Linked DNA regions of Homo sapiens: region 1 is linked to region 2. The links are contacts of gene promoters, found by promoter capture Hi-C in human tissues and cell types (Jung and others, 2019). All regions are on one chromosome and are shown on one strand. Each heading gives the region's core, a stretch centred on a gene start or on the middle of the fragment in contact. The rest is flanking DNA. Distances are from core to core; before and after follow the strand shown.

Region 1 (5,592 bases), core at 59-2,558, 41 kb before region 2:
GAAGTGGATTTAATTCCTAGAGGTGGTAATCTTTCTATCAAAATTTGAATCTCCAAAGAAACCTCAGTGTTTTTGGCCCCAGTCCATGTATAATGTGTTTTAACTATGGAATCTGCAACATGGACATCAGTGGAGACAATCCACAGCCTTCAAAGTCCATCAAACTATTAGAATGTACTGATTGGGAAATCATTCTGTGATGGCTGCTGTTTTCTTAGTCAGGGGTAGTGATCTTCCTTTTAGAAAAGAATAGTTTAGCTTCTGTAACCACTCAAGGGATTCTCCCTGCCTGCTGAATAAAGACAGGCATTGCAGTAAAGAAAGAGTTTAACAGACAAGAGGTCAGCCAAACCACATGGGAGATGGAATTAGTACTCAAATCATCACATCCAAAGCTCTAGGATTAGGGGTTTTTCAAAGGCAGTTTGGGGAAATTTATAGGGGTAGCCAGGTAACAGGTGCTTGATGCTGATTGGTTGGGGCAAAGATGAAATCACAGGGAGTCAAAGCTGTCCTCCTGTGGGCGGAATAGCTTCTGGGTGGGGCCACAGTAGTAGGGCTGGCAGGTTCAGGTAGAGCCATGAGTTTCAGACATGCAAAAATTCCTGAAAAGATATCTCAAAAGGCCCATCTTTGGTTCTATGATAGTGATGTTATTTGCAGGAGTAATTAGGGAAGTTGCATTATCTTATAACCTCCAGAATAAAGGCTGACAATCATTTATGTCTCTGCCTTAGCAAGACTCATGCTCCTCTCCTACCCCAGTCTGATGGCCTCCCATTAGCTTTACAAAAGTGGTTGAGTTTCAGGGCAAAGCCCATTATCATTTAAACTATAGCCTGAATGTCTTCCAAAGTTAGCTTTGCCCAATAGCCCAGGAATAATTAAAGGAAAGGCAAGATAGGGGTGGACTAGCTCAGATCTCTTTCAGTGTCATAATTTTCTCACTGATATACTTTTTTCAAAAGTGGTTTTACCTCAGAGAGGAAAGGATGTCATTGTTGAGAAATACTTTTTTTTTAATAGTTAACCACCAATTCCTGGACCAGATATAACTGACTTTGCACCCTAGGATTTTAACCATCTGCTATACTGCTTTCTCTGATTTTGTTTTCTTTGCCCAGTTGCAGCCCTTCAAAGCTCCACTCTTAGTTACCAAGCAGACTTTCTTCCTGCTGCTCCATCTCTTTTTATTGAGGTCACTTCAATCTCCTTCTGTCTCTTGTATCCTCCCGTTATTGGTTCCACCTTGGCAACTTATTTGGATCTGCCTCTTGCTAAACGTGTATGCTATGTCCTGCTGTGTTTTCTGGTTTGGGTCACACTGCCCTACAAGAAAACTTTGGAATCAATGTCCAGGATCTTAGGCGATTCCCTTCATTTGGGGTAAATCCCTGGGGGCTTCATGAAAGTTGAGATGCTGTGGGCAATATTGACACAGGAGTTTTCTTAGTTACTTTGTAAGCCAGGGACCTCCAGCCAGTGATGCCCCTGCCTGGGCCTCACTCGGCCATGCTCCCTGCCACTGGAGGCAGCTGCCCACTCAACCCACCCAGGCTGTGCCTGGCTTGTGCACCAGCTGAGCCTGCAGCTGGGCCAAGCATGCTCCAGTCCACCTGTGCTATAGCTCATACCCACGTTCAGCAGTTCCTGAGTTCTTGTCCCATGTCCAAGAATAATGAGGATATTCTGACAGTTGAAGGGTGAGGAGGGCAGAGAAGAATTTTGTTGAGGATGAAACAGCTTTTAGCCAAGAAGGGTCGTGAGGGTGGTCAGCCACCTGGAGTTGGGTGTTTCTCTCCCAGTGTGGCTGAGTCCAGAACTTTGATGGGCTCATAATAGGGGAGTGCATCCTGATTGGTTTGTGAGTATGCAAAAAAGGTTAAAAACAAAGGCAGCACTCAAAGGTGGGCATGGCAGTGTGAAAAAACAATTAGGGAAGGGTAGGTATATGTAAAATAGGTGAAGGCTGGGGATCAATCAGAGGAAAGCATGCCAAAAGGGAAGACAGGTTCTCAATCTTTTCCCTGGATTTGAATTATAGCTTGGCTTTCAGGCTTTAAACTGTCTTTGGTTTGGAGTTGGGGTTTCATAGGGGTCCCACTCCTATCTGCCTAGGCATTTGTCTGCTTCCTTCCACTATCAATATGAACCTAATGACAGTGCTGCAGTATATTGATTCAACCATTCTCTTGCAATTTCTTGTCCCCTTTACCTTCCAATATTGTGACTCTCATTCTCAAATGGGCCCTCAATGTTCCCCAGTAGATTCACCCACCATATTTTCCTAGTACATTCTCTCTTACACCTTCACAGATGGCCATCTTATGCCATCTCTCTCCTTCAACCACCAGTACCTCCTCCTCGCTTTCCAATCAGAATAGCTGGCCTTTCTTCCTCTATAGAAAATCAAAGAAACCAAAGGATACAATTCCATATGCTCCCAAAACCACTTCTACTGACTTATTAATATATTTGCCTTTCCCCCATCACCCGTAGATAGAATAACCACCAACTCATCTATGGTCAATCCCTTCATTTGGGCACTAGCTCCCAACCCTTCATGCCAATTCAAATACATTAGTTTAGCAACTGTCTATTCTCTGTGGCATCATCAATTTCCCCTCTTTACTATATCATTCTCAATATCATACCAATATGCTATAAAACCTCTTATCTACACCTTTCTTGTTGCTGCCCCATTTCCCAGTCCTCTGTTCCAGTAAATTTTTTGATAATGTTATCTATGTTTGCTATCTCTATTCCTCTCTTCTAATATTTTTCAGTACCCATGACAATCAGGCTTTTAATTCACTGAAACAGCTCTTGTCAAGGTCTCCAATGACCTGTAATTGCCAAGTGCAATGGTCAATTCTCTGTTCTCATCTAATATTTAATAGAGTGATCATTTCCTTATTTCCACTTTCTTCACTTGACTTCTGGCATATTTCTCTCTCTATCTCACTCTCCCTCTCTCAGTGCCCTTCTTCCTTAGCTATTTCTTCCTAATCTTCTTTGCTGGTTTCTATTCATCTCTCCTAACTCTAAATTGGAGGGCCCTATGACACAGTACTCAGATGTCTTCCTTCACTCCCTAGGTGAGCGCAACTAGTCTCATGGCTTTCAACATGCCCTCACTTCCAAACTTATACTTCTAGCCCAGGGGTCTCGGCTGAACTCCAGACTCATATACTCAACCGTATAGTTGACATTTCCACTTACAAGTATAATATGTAACTCAAGCTTACATGTCCAGACCAAATACTGATTTTCTACATTCCTGCCCCAACCTGCTTCTCCTATAGGCCACCCCATGTCAGTAAGTGGTAATTCCATTTTTTCATTGCTCTGGTTAAAACATTCCCTTTCCCTTTCTCTTCTACCATATTCAACCTATTACTAATCCTACTTGATCTATGTTCAAAATATATCTAAAATCTGACTATGTCTAGCTATCTCTACTACTATCACCACTGTCCAAGCCACTGTAATCTTGTTTGTGTATTATATCTACAAGCTGTTAACTGGTCCTTCTACTTCTACACTTGTTTCAATCTATTCAGTCTATTCACTATACAGTAGCTAGAATGCTCTTTTGAAAATGGAAGGTTGGGTGCTGTTACATTTCTAACCAATACTATCCAATGACTTCCTAGCTCATGCCAAGTAATAGACAAAAATCCTGTGTCTACAAAATGCTTTCCTCTCTTCCCAACCTTTTCAACTTTGTCTCCTACCAATTCCCCACTCATGGCTTATTCTGCTTCAACTACATCAGCCTTGCTGCTGGCTTCAGGGGTTTTGTATGCAGTTTCTTCTGCCTAAATGTTTACCCTGAGTTCTACGGCTCCCTTCCTCACTTCCTCCAGGTCATTGTCCATGTGTGCCTCCTCACTTCCTCCAGGTCATTGCCCATGTGTGCCTTCACTGGCAAAGCCTCCCTGACCTAGTATTAAGAAGCCTTAATACCTCATGACTGTCCCCAGCCCTCCCTACTCTATCATGTGCTTATTTCTTCATTTGTTTTGCTTATTATTTTTTATTGGCAATCTCCTTTCACTAGACTATAAACTCTATGAGGGCAGCAAGCTTTCCCTGTTCTTTGAAATGTCCCTCATGCCTACAGTAATATCTGTCTCAGAGTGAACTTCAATAAATATTGTTGAATAAATACATTGGGATAATAATAAGATTAACTAATCTGACTTGTTTGCTGAGGAGGTATTTTCTTAGAATGATCACCAAGCTACAAATATTAAAGGTCTTAGGCAAAAGAAAAAGAAAATGAAAGCAAGCTAAGGTTTCCTGGTAATTTGCTTGGTTTGTGAAGAAGTCAACCTTGATTTATATATTACCTGATGGTATGGATTTTTTTTTTTTTTTTGAGATGGAGTTTCACTCTTGTTGCCCAGGCTGGAGTGCAATGGCATGATCTTCGCTCACTGCAACCTCTGCCTCCTGAGTTCAAGCAATTCTCCTGCCTCAGCCTCCCTAGTAGCTGGGATTACAGGCGCCTGCCACCACGCCAAGCTAATTTTTTGTATTTTTAGTAGAGACAGGGTTTCACTATGTTGGCCAGGCTGGTCTCAAACTCCTGACCTCAGGCGATCCACCTGCCTCGGCCTCCCAAAGTGCTGGGATTACAGGCATGAGCCACTTCACCTAGACTGGATTTTGGCTTTCATCCTCAAAGTCTAACATTATAACTAGGCCTGTGCTCACAGTAAAGGAGCAGAAAATGCCATATGAAGCTTGCCTTTGAAGTGTCCTTACAAACGTTCTGACACAATCTTCTCCCATCACAGACAGACCAATGCTTGCTCAAGGGCACTCAGCAAATCAAGGGCAGAGCTTTTTATTTTTGAATCTATTTTAACATACTTGTATAACAGAGATGCTTCAATTTTCTTTCTTTTTTTTGGTAATAAAAACTATCCAAAATTTAACAACAAGAGAGTTCGGTGCTCTTTTAAAGTCATGTAAGAGCCCTGACTTACCAGCCTACCAGATCTGTCCAACAGAAATACAACGTGAACCTTATATGTAATCTGAATTTTCTAGTAGCCACAGTAAAACATTTTAAAAGAAATGGGTGAAATTAATTTGAATAATATATTTTATTTAACCCAATGTATGAAAAATATTATTTTGACCTGTAGTCAATATGGAAACTTATTAGTGGGGAAGTTTACATTCTTTTTTTTTTCATGCTGTTTTTGAAATTCAGTGTGTACTTTACACTTGTAGCAGGTCTCAATGTGGACTTGCCACACTTCAAGTGCTCTATAGCCACATGTGACTAGTGGCTTACATATTAACCAATACAGCTTTAGGGAAACCACATATTTGACATTTTTTTAAAAAAAATTTTAATTTTTAATGACATTTATTTATTTTAATTTTATTATTATTTTATTTTGAGATGGAGTCTCACTCTGTCACCCAGGCTGGAGTGCAGTGGTGCCATCTCGGCTCACTGCAAACTCCGCCTTCCAGGTTCACGCCATTCTCCTGCCTCAGTCTCCCAAGTAGCTGAGACTACAGGCGCCCACCACCATGCCCAGCTAATTTTTTGTATTTTTAGTAGAGATG
Region 2 (5,473 bases), core at 2,927-5,426:
GCCTGGATTCCCAGTTGGCTATGTAAAAGCTAGGTCAGTGAGCTGACGTGATCTCTGAGATGCTGCAGACTGGGTTTAGCATGACTCTCTTTAAACCAGCAGGCAGAACCTTGGTTACCTTTCTGCTGTGGTAATTGCAGCTTAAAATATTAATTGGAAAAGGCCCGTTTTCCTTACTCTCCTGCTTTTTTGCCATATCGAGTATGTTAGAAATTGTTCTGGGAAGCCTGGAGAAGTGAGGAAACGGTGGGCGGAGCAGAGGAGAAAGAAAGGGAGTACATGCTGTGGAAAGCTGCACTGTTGCTGTAGTTTCCTTTCCCTTCACTGAGGTTTAATCACTAGTTGGAGGAAATTGGAATGTTTGAAGAAGGAGGGCCAGTGCAGGGTGGAAAAAGGAGGGGAAGACAGGAGAATTCAATAAGGCCAAGGGCAGTTTAGCAAAGCAATGCCCAGTAAATTGTACTATGGAACTCTGTAAGTGACTAGGGAGTCAGAGCCATCCAGGGCACATGACAAAATTGTCCTACTGTTTCTTTTGAAGATCTGCAGACAGGTTCTATACCAGACTGCCAGATTGGAAGCCTTCAGACTATTGTTTCTATAATTCCCTTCTTCCTAATTTTAGGGACAGAAGTGCCAGCTGGCCATTCATTTTCCAACAGCTTTCTTCATACCTCGACACCAGTCCTGATGACTCTGATCCCATACTCATGAAGCCGACCTCAAACTTACAAGCACGTTGAATCTGAGCTGAATTTATAGTTAAAGTGGCATGCTTTCACATATTTTTATAGACGCTGGAAGATGAGTACACCAGCTGGATCAGTCCTGAAAACATCAAAAGGCTGGATGATACAGGGAGGAAAAAGAGAAGGAACTCTGCTGAAAGAAATACCAAAACTCTTATTGTTCATGTGGTAGAAAAAGTAATGAATGAAGTCTTAAGACCTGGGGTCTAGCTGCAGCTTTCCCCTAACTAGTCACATGACCTTAAGCAAATTCTGTCCCTCCCTCACAGAATAATGAGTGGAATTCAACAATTCTTTCTTTTTCTTTTCTTTTTTTTTTTTTTTTTGAGACAGAGTTTTGCTCCCATTGCTGCCCAGGCTGGAGTGCAATGGTGCCATCTCGGCTTACCGCAACCACCTCCGTCTCCCAGGTTCAAGAGATTCTCCTGCCTCAGCCTCCTGAGTAGCTAGGATTACAGGCATGGGCCAGCATGCCCAGCTAATTTTGTATTTTTAGTAGACACTGGGTTTCTTCATGTTGGTCAGGCTGGTCTCGAACTCCCAACCTCCGATGATCTGCCTGCCTCGGCCTCCCAAAGTGCTGGCATTACAAGGAGTTCAATACTTTCTAAGATCCTTCAAACTTTCATATTTTCAAAACCATATATTTGTCAGCAAATACATATTAGATGTCTGCAATATGCCAAGCATTATATACCCACCTATAATAGTTTACTGCCTTTGTTTTTGAAGGACCACATTTCTCTTTGGTTACTCAATTTCCTCATGGTGAAATGCGACTAATGATGACTCTCCTGCTTATTTTAGAACACAGAGGGAAATTGTATCTGAAAGTGATTTGGAAAATCTAAAATGTTCTGCAGCAGCAGATACCTTTGACATATTCATTTGTATTGTGGGAACATATGTACAGGTTTTTCTCTTTGAGATAATAAGCAATAACCTGAAAATGCTCTGTTTTACTTGAAAATGTGTGAGATGCCTGATCCAGAGAGAAATTATCTTAATACTGTTCCAGAGTTGTGTTTGCATGTACACACAAAGCTGCTAATTAGATCACAGTAAATGCACAAAGTAACATTGTCTGCTTGAAGAATAAAGAATGTGTTCCATGAGAGCTTGCCTATTTTATTCACCATCACATTTATAATAGTAATATTTGTTGAAGGAATGAATGAGTGAAGCAATGAAAGAACGCAGATAGCAGAGATGTCTTTAGTTTTCTTTTCATTACCAATTTCAATTCTTGTGTTGTCTTCAATATTTAGGTATTTTCTTTGATACTTTTTCTTCTCCTCTGATTACCTCTAGAGGAGAGTATGTTGAAGCTCATTTTGACTCAAAATAATTTATGCTTAGGAATCAAAAGATGTTCGTGTTGCAAACACACATTCCTTAGAAATATTACTATTGTAATTGCTTCCTGAGATCATCTTTAATGTGTCCAATACATTATTCTGCTTTAGTTCTGTAGCACCTAACACAGGGTATGGCATTGAAAAAGTACTCAGTAATTCATGAATGATTTGGCCAATCCAATGGAATAACTGGTGTGAGTACCTGGGACAGAGGTGCATGACTAATAGGAGTATTGTGTAAGAAATGACACAGGGGTTCTGAAATTTTGCCACGGCATATTTAGTCATTTCCATTCAGTGTTAAGATGGTTGTCACCACACAAATAATATCTATTTGTTCACTGTAAATTTTCTCCAGGGTCCCTTCCCACCTTCAAATGCATTATTTTATTTTATTTTATTATTTTATTTTATTTTATTTTATTTTATTTTATTTTATTTTATTTTATTTTATTTTATTTTATTTTATTTTTTGAGGCGGAGTCTCGCTCTGTCGCCCAGGCTGGAGTGCGGTGGCGCAATCTCCGCTCACTGCAAACTCCGCCTCCTGGGTTCACGCCATTCTCCTGCCTCAGCTTTCTGAGTAGCTGGGACTGCAGGCGCCCAACACCATGCCCGGCTAATTTTTTGTATTTTTTGTATTTTTTTTTTTTTTTTTTTTTTTGAGTAGAGACGAGGTTTCACCGTGTTAGCCAGGATGGTCTCGATCTCCTGACCTTGTGATCCGCCTGCCTCGCCTGCCAAAGTGCTGGGATTACAGGCATGAGCCACCTCGCCCGGCCCCCACCTTCAAATGCATTAATCGGATTCCTTCAGTATTATGAAGAAAACATTATGAAGAGCCTTACCTGATGATAGTAATAACAACCGTAACCACTAAGTAGAGTCTATATTTATTAATAGCAATGTCATCTTCTCTAACAGTTGTCCAGTGTCCCAAGCCTGTCATAAGCTCTTTGAAGCTCTGTGAGAATGAGAGTTGTGTCTTATGCTCAGCACTTAAGATGGCTACTTAATTCAGATAGAAGAAGAATGTGGCTATTTGCAGGCAGAAGGCAACTTGATTCCTCACATGGTACTATATACTAAGACACCCTACACTCCCAGTTTTACACGTGGTAGTTCTAGCACGTTCCTTCATTTAAGGAGTCTCTTGAATTCCAAAATTTCCAGATTCCACCTGAATAAATGGCAGAGATGGCAACTGGACACAAAGTTATTTTACCCTGTTCCCTTCACATAAAAGGCAGGCTTGGGATCACTTAGGTTTGGGGGCATAAACATCCTCTCAGTGTCTGAGTACTAAAGAAATGATAAACTACTATCAATAGAAAAGTAACAGATCACTTAATTATCAATCAGTCTAATGGTGATTATTTTAAGACTTTTGCCACAAACTGAACTGCCCCAAAGCAAATCTCTCATGCAGTTTGGCCTTAATTTCTTTTACCCTTTTTTTTTTTTTGAGAGGTTATTATGCAGTGCTTTCCCGTTTAAAACACTGTTTCTACCAGGGAATATTAGGGGGTCTTCTGCATTACAGACTAAGCAATTCCGTCTTTTCTCAAGAAAAACTGCCATGTTACATCTGGACAAAAATGGAAACTTTAAAAAAAAACCTCACATCGTTTTATTTTCCTTTCTGTGTGTGTATTTTTTCCCACATAAGTATCTTATTATTTCCTAATCGAAGCTCATTCTTCTCTATGAGGCGCTGGCTTGGTATTTTCGCCTGACAAATCTCCCGGAGCAGATGGTCCCTTCAGGGAAGCTTCAGGAAAGTGCTGGGTGTCTAGTTATGCCTGGACCCTCCCTCCCTCTTGGGGCCCCAAATGACAAGTCATCAAACCAGTTTCTCTCCAGCAAGGGTCCTTGATCCGGTAGCAGCAGGTTTGGGTTTCAGGCACTGCAGAGACCCTTTGCAGTTGGGTTTAGCAGCTACCCAAGTCTGCAGCCTGCGCTGGTCCTGGGGGTGAGAGTGATATCCCTGTTGTCCAATCAGAGAAGCGGGTTTCCCTGTGGTCCCCGCCCCACTTTCCCTGCTGCCCCAATAACCGCCCTAAAAGGCCGGGCTTCTGCTGTCAAGTAGCCAGGGTGGGCTCCGCCGAGGCGAGGAGGGGCGCCGGTGGGGAGATGCGCTCCCAGGTGTTTGCAGCGGAAGTGGGAAACCTGTAGGGTATGGTCCAGCTGTGCCGCACCGAGGCGAGCAGGAGCAGGGAACAGGTAGGAAGCTGGACTTTTCCTTCTTTGCAGATAAAATAAAGAATGCGCATTTCCATGCTGTTGCTTCCCTTCCCCCAGCCCCGCCCAGCCCTCGTCACCCCCAAATCTCCTGTGGTCCCTGCAGCTCTCGCCGTGCGGCGCGGGAAGGACTGGGGCGGAGGTGGCTGGGGTGCGGGGAAGCAGGGGTGCGGGATGCCGGAGCCCTGGGGTGCCGGGCAAGGCAGGACGGCAGTGCCCTAGAAGAGGGCTCCGAGCTCGGGGTCTGTGTCTCGTCAACTTTCCTTTCGGAGGCTGCCGCCGCCAGCGCCGGGAACTCGCCCCAGGGATGCCATATCGCCTCGGCAGGGGAGGGGTGGGGAAGCAGAGAGGTCGGCAGCCCGGGGCCTGCAGGTCTTTTTCTCCCGACGCCGGCCCGCACCTGCTCATCTTTCCCATCCCACCTGGGCGCCTGGCTAGCGCATCCCGGAAAACCTGGGAGCGGTTGCGGAGAGGGGAGGAAGCGACTTGTTTGTCCCCTGACCCCTCTGTTAAGATCTAGCTCCCTTCAGGAGATGGGGGTGGGGAAGAATCCCTGCAACTCGAAGGGCACGTTCCGATTAATTACGTCTCCGTTGAGAAGGCACCGGCCCTTCTCCACGATCTGCGGCAGGTGGGAGGGAGAGACCGCGGAGCCACGGCCCCTTCCCTCCTAGCCTGGCGCTGTCTACGGGAACCACCTTCACACCTAGTTTCTGAAAGGTGGATTTGGCTTCAGGGATTTCCAGGGAGTCAAGTGATTGTGCCCGGATGGGCTCCGAGCGGCTGCGAGGCTGCCTCCCTAGGTGACCGCATCTGGGTAGTAGGTGTTGGCCCAGTGCCGGTTCCTGCAGGAGTCAGATTGCTGGGAGCAGTAGGCAGAAGAATTGCAGAGAGATCCGACGCTGCATCACCCTCTGGGACTGATGACACCCTGCTTTGAAAATTCCTGAAAAATTGGGATGATGGGAAAGAGGGAAAGCGGATAGCTGCGACCTTTCCTTATTTATTTATTTATTTTCATGCCAAACCGGGCATGGGTATTCGTACGTGTGCTTGTGTGTGCACATCTCCAAGGTGGAGCTATATATAGCTCCTGCATACCCAGCCCGGCTTCCCTGCTGCTGA

The links. Contacts are between HindIII fragments. The study calls those that stand out against the background at their distance.
Region 1: a contact is called between a fragment that was not itself captured here and the fragment with the promoter of CNTN1 in region 2, in 6 of the 25 tissues and cell types used here (H1 embryonic stem cells, aorta, bladder and 3 more).

The regions. Positions count from the first base shown.
Region 1 is chr12:40,649,731-40,655,322 of GRCh38, forward strand. No RefSeq gene overlaps it. Among named protein-coding and RNA genes, the nearest start is that of CNTN1, 40 kb to the right of the region's middle. The HindIII fragment of the contact is 4,716 bases long and covers 1-3,666 here.
Region 2 is chr12:40,688,263-40,693,735 of GRCh38, forward strand. CNTN1 (contactin 1) reads left to right here and starts at 4,177. Exons shown (of 24, transcript NM_001843.4): 1 at 4,177-4,330. The HindIII fragment of the contact is 18,580 bases long and covers 1,926-5,473 here.